Regions from separate parts of the Homo sapiens genome. Here all the other regions are linked to region 3. Evidence: promoter capture Hi-C in 16 types of primary human blood cells and fetal thymus (Javierre and others, 2016). All regions are on one chromosome and are shown on one strand. The core of a region is centred on a gene start or on the middle of the fragment in contact, and the rest is flanking DNA. Distances in the headings are between cores, read along the strand shown. Region 1 overlaps DUSP16 (dual specificity phosphatase 16). Region 2 overlaps DUSP16 (dual specificity phosphatase 16). Region 3 holds the start of GPR19 (G protein-coupled receptor 19). Region 4 overlaps BORCS5 (BLOC-1 related complex subunit 5).

Evidence for each region. The method cuts DNA at HindIII sites, captures the fragments that hold promoters and counts their contacts. A CHiCAGO score of 5 or more calls a contact.
Region 1: a fragment that was not itself captured here is called in contact with the fragment with the promoter of GPR19 in region 3 in 1 of 17 cell types (total CD8 T cells); the score reaches 6.0 in total CD8 T cells.
Region 2: a contact is called between a fragment that was not itself captured here and the fragment with the promoter of GPR19 in region 3, in 1 of 17 cell types (total CD8 T cells). The highest score is 5.9, in total CD8 T cells.
Region 4: a contact is called between a fragment that was not itself captured here and the fragment with the promoter of GPR19 in region 3, in 8 of 17 cell types (total CD8 T cells, naive CD8 T cells, total CD4 T cells and 5 more). The highest score is 10.7, in total CD8 T cells.

The regions. Positions count from the first base shown.
Region 1 is chr12:12,537,135-12,539,870 of GRCh38, forward strand. All of the region lies in intron 1 of DUSP16 (dual specificity phosphatase 16), which reads right to left. Among named protein-coding and RNA genes, the nearest start is that of DUSP16, 24 kb to the right of the region's middle. The HindIII fragment of the contact is 1,974 bases long and covers 385-2,358 here.
Region 2 is chr12:12,520,155-12,522,854 of GRCh38, forward strand. DUSP16 (dual specificity phosphatase 16) reads right to left here. Exons shown (of 7, transcript NM_030640.3): 2 at 717-1,309. The coding sequence starts at 944. Among named protein-coding and RNA genes, the nearest start is that of DUSP16, 41 kb to the right of the region's middle. The HindIII fragment of the contact is 1,292 bases long and covers 787-2,078 here.
Region 3 is chr12:12,694,733-12,697,432 of GRCh38, forward strand. GPR19 (G protein-coupled receptor 19) reads right to left here and starts at 1,451. Exons shown (of 4, transcript NM_006143.3): 1 at 1,333-1,451; 2 at 727-779. RefSeq lists enhancers at 1,199-1,358, 1,539-1,618. The HindIII fragment of the contact is 8,608 bases long and covers 1-2,700 here.
Region 4 is chr12:12,451,047-12,453,852 of GRCh38, forward strand. The region is part of intron 3 of BORCS5 (BLOC-1 related complex subunit 5); the gene reads left to right. It also overlaps the pseudogene AP3S1P3. Among named protein-coding and RNA genes, the nearest start is that of BORCS5, 95 kb to the left of the region's middle. The HindIII fragment of the contact is 4,586 bases long and covers 1-2,806 here.

The DNA.
Region 1 (2,736 bases), core at 122-2,621, 160 kb before region 3:
GTAATTTCTAAGTTTCCTATTTTATAGATAACTTTCATAACAGAAAACTATATATATTTTTAATAAGACGTAACTCATGTCATGTCATGAAAAAAAGATGTGGAAGTCAAAGTGAAACCTAAATGAATTTTAATACACTATCATGACATTCATCCAACAGTGACTATAGTGTGAGCAAATTTTTAAAAAGTTTTTAAATGTAATTACATAGCCCTATGACAGCAATGCTACAAGGTAAAAGACATTCATATGTATTCTACACAAAGCAATATAACTATATATGATTCAGTACCAGGCAATGTTCCTTTGCCAAATGTAACCTTCAGTATCAAAGAACACATATTCAAAATTAAAATTATAAGCAAAATCATTACAAATACAGTAAGCTTGCTATTGATGAAACTTAATATAAACCAGACCATAGAACTGTCTATTAAGAAACTCAATGGCTAAATGCCAAAATATCTAATTTCACCATCTCATCTAAAACATAGTCCACGGCATAGACCCTAAAAATATGCTCACAAAGCTCCACAGTCTAATTCTCTACTGGACAGATTATGAAATACATTCAAAAGAAACCTATCACCATTTGCTATCAACATATTTAAGTGTCACATAAGCATCACTAAGTATCAGAGACTGAAAGCCCCTCTAAGTAGAACACGATAATAAATGTTCAGTTTTTTCTCTTGCAAATAGTGTTCATTCTTCTAATTCTGGGGTGTGGATCTTAGCTAATCTATAAAACTCCAGGAAAAAAATTAAATGAGTTAGTAGAATATATATATATATGTTCATTTATCGAGCACCAACTAGATTCAATTTCCTATAGCACAATTTCCCACTTTTGCCTGATCACAAGAATCACTTAGAAACTTGATAAAAATGCCCAACCAGGCCCACCTCTGGAGATTGATTCGTGGGTCTAGAGTGGAACCTGTGAATTTGCATATTTAACAAATGTCCCAGGAGGTTCAGAGAATCAGGCAGGTTTGAAAACATGCATCCCCGTGCGCCACCACGCCTGGCTAAAGACATCTATCCTAAAGACATCTTTGGTCTTTCTCTCAATGTTCACATTTAATCAGTTGTCAAGACCTACTGATTTTCAGTCTCTCTTACCTGGAGGACATAGAGGCATAAAAGCTGGATTTGAGTTGAAAATAATGGTAAGAGGAGAAATGGGAAGTCAGTCATGTCACGTCATTAAAGAAAGTCAGAGACTACTGAAATTTCATAGCCAAAGAAGGACTTCCACTTAGTCTAGTGCATGTCTTCTGGCAAGTTAATAATGTCCCTTTTACAAAATGTTACATATTTATTCAAAGTCACACTATTCATCAGTGGTAAAAGACAGAAAATAGCTTCTAGGGAGTGTGCTTTCCACAACCCTAGAGAGCTTACCAAACATTCTGCAAATTTTAATAGGCTCCTGAAAAACACAGAACGCAAAATATTTCAAAAGATGAGAAATAATGCACCCTTTTAAACACTTAATGGGTGTGGCTGTGGAGAGTTGCCCTCACCAAAATGCCAGCCTGCCATGAAGTTACAGATGAAATGCCAGGCATGAAATAGAGAACCAAATGGTGAGGCAACAGCCTCGGCAGGACTCTAGTGAAGGGGGAGGAACCCTCGAAGCAAATGCTTGTCAACTTCCTGGGTCACCATGAAAATACAGTAAGACAGTTAAAGTATGTAATAAAATATAAAGCATGTAATAAATGCTCAGGTAATCCTCCCACCTATTGTAAATTCTAACATTTGCTAAAAAGGGAACAACTCAGTACATGATTAAATGGAGGAGCATTTTGGCTAACAGAGTAGCTCTGAACCTTAGTTACACATTAAAATCATCTGGGAGCTCTTAAATATCCAGATGTACCTCAGAATGATAAATCAGAATCTCTGAGGAATGGGCCCAGGCATCAGTATTTTTCACACGAACAAGCAGAGGTGGATCCTTTACCTTCTCCTAAAAAACTGTCACAAGGGACAGGTCACTTGGAAGGCAGTTTAAGAGAGAGCAGAGGAGAAATCTGGTGACACATGTAACACTGTGATTAATCTATTGCTTACGATGTTTTATATGTTGAAAGTCTGGAATTCTGAATATTTTATTATGTAAGAGATCCAGTTCTCCAATGTCACAGCCTCTATAATTTGAATAATAATAAAGGAGCACAACAATTCACTTATGATACCCAACAGAAGACTGCAAGGATATGCTGGGGCACAGAGCCCAATTAGGGTTTAATAAGACAGGGTTTATGGGTGAAGCAATCTAGTTTCCAATCTTTCTTCTTAAAAATCTACAAATGTTTAGGTGTAGATGTGTCAAGGAAAGATTGTTAAAGCTTGGGAGAGATAGAGTTCAGTGTTCACCGGCTTATGAATGCACGTTAAATAAATATCTCCACCCAGGAATTTCCCATTACTAACGGCTAATCACCATCACAAGGGCATACAGCCCTTTAGAATTCCTCTCTAATCCAATCCTGTAAAACTTCACTTAGGATGATGATGGAAACCAAGATTCGGGCCTCCAGCCAATCTATATTACATTAAATAAAGGACGTCACCACCCTTCTCAAGGTTGGGCCAGCAGTTATTTAAAAAAAAAAAAAAAAAGGCTGGGCACAGTGGTTCACACCTGCAATCCCAGCACTTTGGGAGGCCGAGGCAGGTGGACCATTTGAGGTCAGGAGTTCAAGACCAGCCTGACCAACATGG
Region 2 (2,700 bases), core at 183-2,682, 170 kb before region 3:
GACAGACACATACAAAACTCTTAAAAACCAAAATGATGCTATTTCTGTGTAGGTGATCTCACGATTCCCTGGTTTTAAATCCTTTATACTATAAAATGGTAAAGTTCATAATAAACCAAACAATATGCAAAATAAACATAACCCTGGACCTAAACAAACTTTTTTTAAAATGACTTTTACACCTTAACAAAGAAATCAGTTGTTTATTTAAATTAAAACATGAGCTCATTTGTATTTGTGAAGAAAAAAACCAACTTCCTCACCACACAGACAACATTTTAGTATCCCAGGAATAACTTCCCTTGAAGATATCATTAAGTCTTGACCAATGTTACCACATGTGTTATGACACATAAAAAGCACCCCTAATAATTAGTTCCTACTTTCTTTCCAAAGAACTTGAAAAGAATGACTTTCCTTTCAGTAAATTTGCAGATAATATAGAATAGTGTTTAATAAAATCATTTTAGCAAGCCACAAGAAAATATAGCACTTGTCCAAACTAAAGCAAGTTAATCCTTCATAGTTTAGAAATATTATTAAATGTGGCAATATGGACAATAAATTATTTTGAGGTACCACAAGGCACCAAAATTTAAAAAGCAACCAAAACTTCCTCAAATTACTTTCTCTACTTAAAGAGGAGGCTTCAATTAAAATTATTCCTCATTCAGTGTGTCCATTTATTTTGAAAAGGCAAAAAGGAAAGCGTTTACCTTATGTTTCGCTGAATGCTGGATGAGCTCTGTAATTAACACTTTGTCCTGTTGCAACCTTCGCTTCATAAGCTTGGAGCAGTTGATATTAATGGCTTCCAAAATGTGGGATGTATTGTATTCCACAAATGGCCGGCTATCAATTAGCAGCACTTTTTCCGTTCCACTTTCCAGCAGAGCCACCAACCTCTCAGTAACAATTTGAGTTCCAATCATCTCATGGGCCATGACAACAATAAGTCCTCTTTTCCCACCTCCTTCTTTAATTTGCCACGATGATGTAATGGTGGTGTGCTCAAAGGCTCAGCCACTCCATTGTACTAAAAGTGTATGAGGTCAGGCTGGTGGTGACTGGCAAAAGGAGAGTTAAACCCATTTTCAGCAAGAGCCCTCCAAGTGAATGTCTCTTTCTCTTTCCCGTTGATGTGCTCTTGCAAAGGACTCCGTCCACAAAGCAGCCCCTCACATTTGATTCATAAAGAGATGACTGGAATAACCATTCCACAACAAAAGATGCTTTGGAGCAGCCAGCGCATTACATCATTCTTTACCTTTGCTCCCGCGCTCCAACAGCTTTACACTGGACTGAAAGCCTACGCGGAGAGAGAAAGACAGAAAACAAAACGTGAGGTCAAAAAAAGAAGAAAGAGTGTCAGATTAGAGAGAGTGTATGATTCATAATATTTACTCCATTAATCTAATTCCATACTTGATGCACTGCTTCATTTGAACAAACAAATAAAAAGGACAAATTGGTATGGCTTCAGAAAAATGTGCTAGTGATAATTCCATTTTACCTCAAAATGTAAAAACTCAAAGAAAACAAAACAAGACATATCATGAATTATAATCACCTAGGGCTCAGAACTAAATGACCTGTAGTATTGAATTAAAAGGGCTACAAAAAGCTGCTTGAAGTATTATTATTCCAAATAGTTTTCCTATATTTTATTTGCTTATTTATTGAAATCCCACAAAGAATGGCAGCTGAGGACAAAGTTAGCAATCCTGTGTTACCAGGACAAAAAAAAAAATATTTTCTGAAATGGCTTGAGAATTCCTGCGATGAATGGGTAGGTGTATATGTGTGTATGTGTGTGCACATGTGAGCTCACGCGAGTACCAGGGCGCAAACAGCAGCCTTTTAAAATTGCCCTCACGGAGGAGAGAAGATGCAGGAAAACTGGAGTTTCTATAAATTTCAGCTATCTTTTAAGGAAGAGGAAGGACAAAAACAACTGATATGTTTGTCACAGCAGCTGCTGAGCTAGGCCTGTGAAGTGCTGAAGCTCACAGCCATGGCCCTGTCATGTCTCCTTCCGGAGGCCATCTCCCTACCACCAAGTTGCTTAAGGCCCTGTAAGCTTATCCTTCACTTTTTCCTGCTTCATTCTTCAGAGAATCACTAACTCCTAGTCTTAAAAAAATCTCACCCCTTAACCTGGAACTCTAAGTTGGCAACCCAGACATAGAGAGCCCTTAAAGCTGAACCCAGTGCTTCCCTTTCTTGCCAAACTCCTTTAATCAATCACTTTCTAATTAACACTAGTTGAAGTTTTGCGCTTATTGCTTGGACTTCACCTTGACCTTCAATACTCTCGGATTCCTATCTCCCCTGGTCCATCTCTGCTTATATGAAATCCTCTACTACATAAAACTACATGTCTACTTCTGGCACTGAACTTCTAGAGGGTAAATTTTTTTTTTTTTTGAGACAGGGTCTTGCTCTGTCACCCAGGCTGCAGTGCAGTAGCACAATCTCAGCTCACTGCAACCCCTGCCTCTCAGGCTCAAGTGATTCTCCTGCCTCAGCCTCCCAAGTTGCTGGGACTACAGGCGCGCACCACCACACCCAGCTAATTTTTGTACTTTTTGTAGAGACAGGGTTTCGCCATGTTGCCCAGGCTGGTCTCAAACTCCTGGGCTCAAGCAATCCACCTGTCTCAGCCTCCCAAAGTGCTGGGACTACAGGTATGAGCCACCG
Region 3 (2,700 bases), core at 201-2,700:
GCCCAGGTCTGATTCCCAATTGTACACACTTTATATGACATCATATCGAGATGTCATGCCTCTCAGAGCTGGATGATCCCACTCCCTAAAACAAGACACCCAGGCTTCAACCCTGAAATCCTATTCCATTGCCTCCATGGATTTTTCCTGCAGCATTTTCCTATGCACTTCACACATACAGCGCAGCTGCCAGGATATACTTTAGGCTGCCAAAATGAAATGAAGTCACTTTCTTGGTAAGTGATTACCATGCCTGGCTCTTTACTGAAGTACTTCCATTCTATATATTCACACTGGGATCCTTCTCCATCACTGCTAGCTTCAATCCTGTGGCTTTCCATATTTAGTTTTTCTTACAGATGAAGTGATACTCTTTACCTATCAGCCATTCCTTTGTTGGAGTAAAATTACGTATTCCATCAGCATTCTTCTGCCTTGTACTCCAGATAGTATACAAAGAATCAAATTATAGTAGCTAAGTGGCATAGAATTGCTGCCGATATCAAGATGGACTCTAATATCTAGTGAACTGGGAGGCTAGAGGCTAGAAGTATGTACTTCTGTAAGGTGTCAGTGACACATCTGAGTAATGTGGTAGCTAAATGCCACCATTTCATTCCATGAAATCCACATTTCATTCTGGCTAAAGGGTAAAGCTGGTGAGAGGTGGGAGGGGCCAGGAGGCTCCATCGGAAGGAGGCAGACACTTCAGGTGTTGGGTGGTACCTTTAAGATGTTGCGGGGCCAAATCCAATGCCGGTGCAGGTGTCCCATATATCCTGAGAGACAAAAAGAGGTCAGATTGGTCAGATCCCTCGAGACAGTTCCCAAATTCCTGACTTCTGTTACCGCGACTGTTCTTCGCAATTCCACCTCGGCCTGTGTTCAGGACTGTGGCTTTTAGAATCTTCCTCATTCCATTCCATTAGGGGCGTCCCGATTTCCACCTTATATACACCATGTACTAAATGCATGCCATTTCTGCCTGTTTACAAACATGCATAAGTTCACACTCTTTTAAGAAAAATGTCCTCTACTGTCAACTTCTTTCTAGTCTGGCCTCCCAGGTAGGCTACAGAGCTACTGCCTTCATTTATCTCTCAAATCTTCCCATCTTCTCCTTCCCACTGTATTACCTTAGCTCACACTCACATCCTCTTGGTCACCAGCCAAAAAATAAATAAAACTCCTTTGTCCCTTCAGATTTCTCTCTTATTCTACAACCTCATTAATCGGCTCTCCCGCTCCCACTCCTTTACTACTTCAGTCGCTGAAACCTCCCCTCACAGAGTTCACGGCCAATATAAAAACGGAAAGAAGGGATGACCATACGAGCTTGTGGACTTTTGCCTGCAAAATCTCATAGAATGTGGTGTTGTGTACGTGAATCCATCAGATCAACGCGACGGACACTCCCCAAGGGCCAAATCGGACCGCCTCTCACTAGGCGGAAAGTTTTGAAACTTTTGCGCGCTAAAAATGATGAGCCAGACGCATGCGCAAACGTGCACTCCCGGGGTGGCGCTTCTCCTCAGGCAGATCTCGCGTGGTTTGGTGATGGCCGGCTAGTATGAAGGTTTTCCGTGGCGTTGAGATCCCACCCGCCCTTTTTTTTTTTTTTTTTTTTTTTTTTTTTTTTTTTTGCTGCCCCAGTGGATTAGGATTAGTGCTGCAGTCAAATGAAAAAGATCAAGACAAAAAATTAGGCTAATATAACTAGCCGACAGGCTAGCGGCATTTCTCTGGGGCCGAGGAATTCCACGAAGAAGATCTCTGCGAGGCCCAGAAGGCCGCACAACTACTTCTTCAGAAACAAAATTTTTTAAAAAAGTAAAAATAGAGGAAGTCAGCCAGTTTATCACCTTGGAACCAGCGTTTTGTTTGGCTTTTCCGCTTTTCACTCTACGAAAAAGCCCATTGGCGGCTACCCAGGTTACCGTCCTGTTGCCATTGCGCCTGCGCGGCGGTTTGTTTACCAGTCCAGGCGAAGCGCTGTGTCGCGGTTCTCGCCGCCCCGAGCGCCTTGGTTTGCTCCCTTGACGTGTAATTCGTAATGAAAGTCATGTTTTCATTTGGGAACACGGATCGGAGGTTTAAAACTGGACAGTTTAAGTGTCAACTTCAGACCAAAGAAAATAATGGTAGGGAAAACACTGGACACTCAGAAATCGGTGCCGCGTCAGAGCTGTCACGGAAGATGTTTCTAATGAACCTGAGGAAAACAATAGCACCACCCTAACCAGAACTAAAAAGTGGCAAGCAGCCACAGTTAATGAAACTCATAGGTGGCATTTAGTTACTTATTTAGAATGTAGGCCTAGTTATGGTAAAAATGCAAATAAGACCAAACCTAAGGTCCTCTTGCTCGAGCAAACCTCAAGCAAAACCTACATGATTTAAGACTGACTCTTGAAGCGAAGTAAAAAAAAAAAAAAAAAAAAAAAAGCAGCCATGCAAAATTTGAAACTTGGAGACGACTCTAGAAGCATTAACCCAAGAAAGCACAAGCCAACAAACAAATTTTTGAAATGGTTTGAAGAGCTCTTCAAAGTCAGTTTCAGGTGGCTTAGAAGAGGATGTTGCTTATAAAATGAGATCTGATGGAAACTTGTTTTACAGATATGACTGGATTCGTTTGAAAACAAAAAAAAAGGCAGGCAAAGTGACTTTTTAAAAAGTATTTTTATGGAAGGATTTCTA
Region 4 (2,806 bases), core at 33-2,532, 240 kb before region 3:
ATGGATGCCAGTTTTGTTTCTGTTAGAGTGTGTGGAGTGAGATTTACCAGAGAGGGATTTCTCTTTTCTGGTTGACAGATCAAAGGTACGCCTATGAGAATACATGGCAAGAATTTATTCTTTTTTTTTTTTTTAACAGTGATAAAATATACTTTACTTTGTTGAGTCAGAGGGTTGTAAAAAAAATTATTGCTAAAGTAGGTATCAGGCAAACAGAAAGGTGCTTTAGAAGTCCAGTTACCTTGGAGTTTATTTAAACTAAGAGAAAAACGTCATAATGTTTTCATGCGATACATATCTGGTTCTTTAACAATTGTGTGACAAACAGCAGAAGGAATTAAGGAATGCCGCACTTGTGATCCATACAAAACACCAACACTTTAGGTTGTACATAATTAAAGAAATATCTCAAACACTTTTTAAAACACTGTAGTAGCCAATACATAGAGGCATGCCGTAGGTAGGCACAGGAATGCAGTTTAGAAAAATAAATAAATCACATAGGAACTACTCAATTTCCTTAAAATCACTGAGCAAGAAAAGCAACATTGAACTGGCTGGGCGCAGTGGCTCACGCCTCTAATCCCAGCACTTTGGGAGGCCGAGGCGGGCGGATCACGAGGTCAAGAGATCAAGACCATTCTGGCCAACATGGTGAAACCCCGTCTAATTTTTGTACTAAAAATACTAAAAGTACTTTTTTTGTACTAAAAGTACAAAAATTAGCTGGGCGTGGTGGCGCTCGCCTGTAGTCCCAGCTACTCAGGAGGCTGAGGCAGGAGAATGGCGTGAACCCAGGAGGCGGAGCTTGCAGTGAGCCGAGATCGCACCACTGCACTCCAGCCTGGCGACAGAGCGAGACTCTTTCTCAAAAAAAAAAATTAAAAAAAAAAAAAAAAGGAAAGCAGCATTGAACTTTCATATTGATTTTACACAGCTTTTATACAGTACCTTGACTTAAATCCAAGAGCAAAACTTGACTGTCCTCCTCTATTTTTGGTAAACTTACGTGACTTTCCCCCCTGGATTTTACCTGGGAGTAGCCTTTTTAAATTTTTATTTAAAAGAGGGCAGGTTTGGCACTTTATAGTAATGTCACCAATGTTAATATTTCTTGGGATCTCAGGAAGATTCACATTTTTTACAGCTGATACAGGTTCAGCACAGGCTGAAGCTCCCCCTCAGCCAGCCTCAGATTTTTCCAGCTTATTTTGTGCACCAATTTGTGTAACAATCCCATTCATGTTTGTCTCCAATACCATTCCCCCATCATCATTTCTGCAAGAATATTGTGAACCGTGTCTACATGGAAAATCAAATCCAGTTCACAAACATTTTCAAAACATTTGTCTAATGTTTCCACAAATCCATAGGGCTGGTAGAACTTGGAGAGCCGCGGTTTCCCATGATTGTTAAGATTAGGATCGCCTTGATCGTGGCTGGGTCGGGCCCACCGGGTAGGCACTGGGGGCCAGGGTGCGGGCCGGCGCGCAAGCCTCGCCTCGTGATCTTGCCGGCGATCCTTCCCCACCCACTCCCTCCCGCACGCCGGCAAGAGTTTATTCTTACAGGCTGCCATTGCAAACTACTGTCTTCAGAAACAAGGTCACTTCAAAGTGTCCAGAATGTGGTAATTGGTGCCATTCAGCCTGTGGCGTAATTAAGGAAAACATTTGCCCATTGTTGTCCATTGTGCTAGAGAGAGGCGTCCAGGAAAGATTCATACTCCCAAACCCTCCATGGGAGTGGTGATCTGGAGAGGGTCGGACAGCCAGAAAGCACATAGTTGACCCTGAAAGGTTTTGTTGCAGCCTGTCATACCCTAACCTTTATAATCTGTCTGAATCTCTACTGCAGGTCAAGTAGCCATGGTCTGGTGGGGATAGAGGTGGCAGGTGGGCTAGAACGTGCCATATCTTGATTTGTGGCAATGGGCCTCCTACTCTTCGGAGTGGAGACAGCTAATACCATGAGTCAAAGACCAAATCGGGATAGCCGATGTATAAAAACACAAGCACCGGGTTTGCAAACTGGAAGAAAGGTCTTGAAGAAGGTGTCAGAAGCAAAAAATGGTAAGTATGTGAGGAGGTGGATATTTTAATTAGCATGACTATAGAAATCATTTCACTATGTATATGTATGTCAAAACATGTGTGCTGTAAATATATAGTTTTTATTTTTTAAAAAATGAATGCTGTCAGTATGAGTCCATTTAAAAATAAGCAGGCTTAAAGGTTCAAGGAAATTGCTGAGAACTGGCATCTCACGCTTCCTTTTGGGGTTAGTCGATGCATGGTATGGCTAATGTAAAGATCCAGGATCTTATGAACACAGCTTTTTACCTTGGACTGTTCCTCTTGCAGACTCAGCTACCACCTTCCTTTAGGATTAAAAATGTTTTACTTAGCCTCAACAATTTGTTTTAGAGCCACTTTCATAGTGCCTAGTCCTGGATTCCCAAATAGGTTTCTTCATCTTCGTAAACTCGAAAGTGGCCATCTGGGGTTCAGTGTCAGGAAGGGTTCTGAGTCCAAGTCAGATTTAAAGAATAACCATGATGCATTACTGGTATCTGTCGGGGGTCTGGGAGAAGGAATTGAATGTATTTGAATACACTTATTTTATTATTTTTTAAAACTGAGTTATCATTCACGTAGTTCACCCTTTTACAGTGTGCATTTCAGTGGTTTTAGTATTCTTGCAAGATTGTGCAGCTACACCACTATGTAATTCCAGAACATTTTCATCTGCCTAGAATGAAACTCTATGTACATCAGCAGTCACTCCCCATACCTCTATTCCCCTA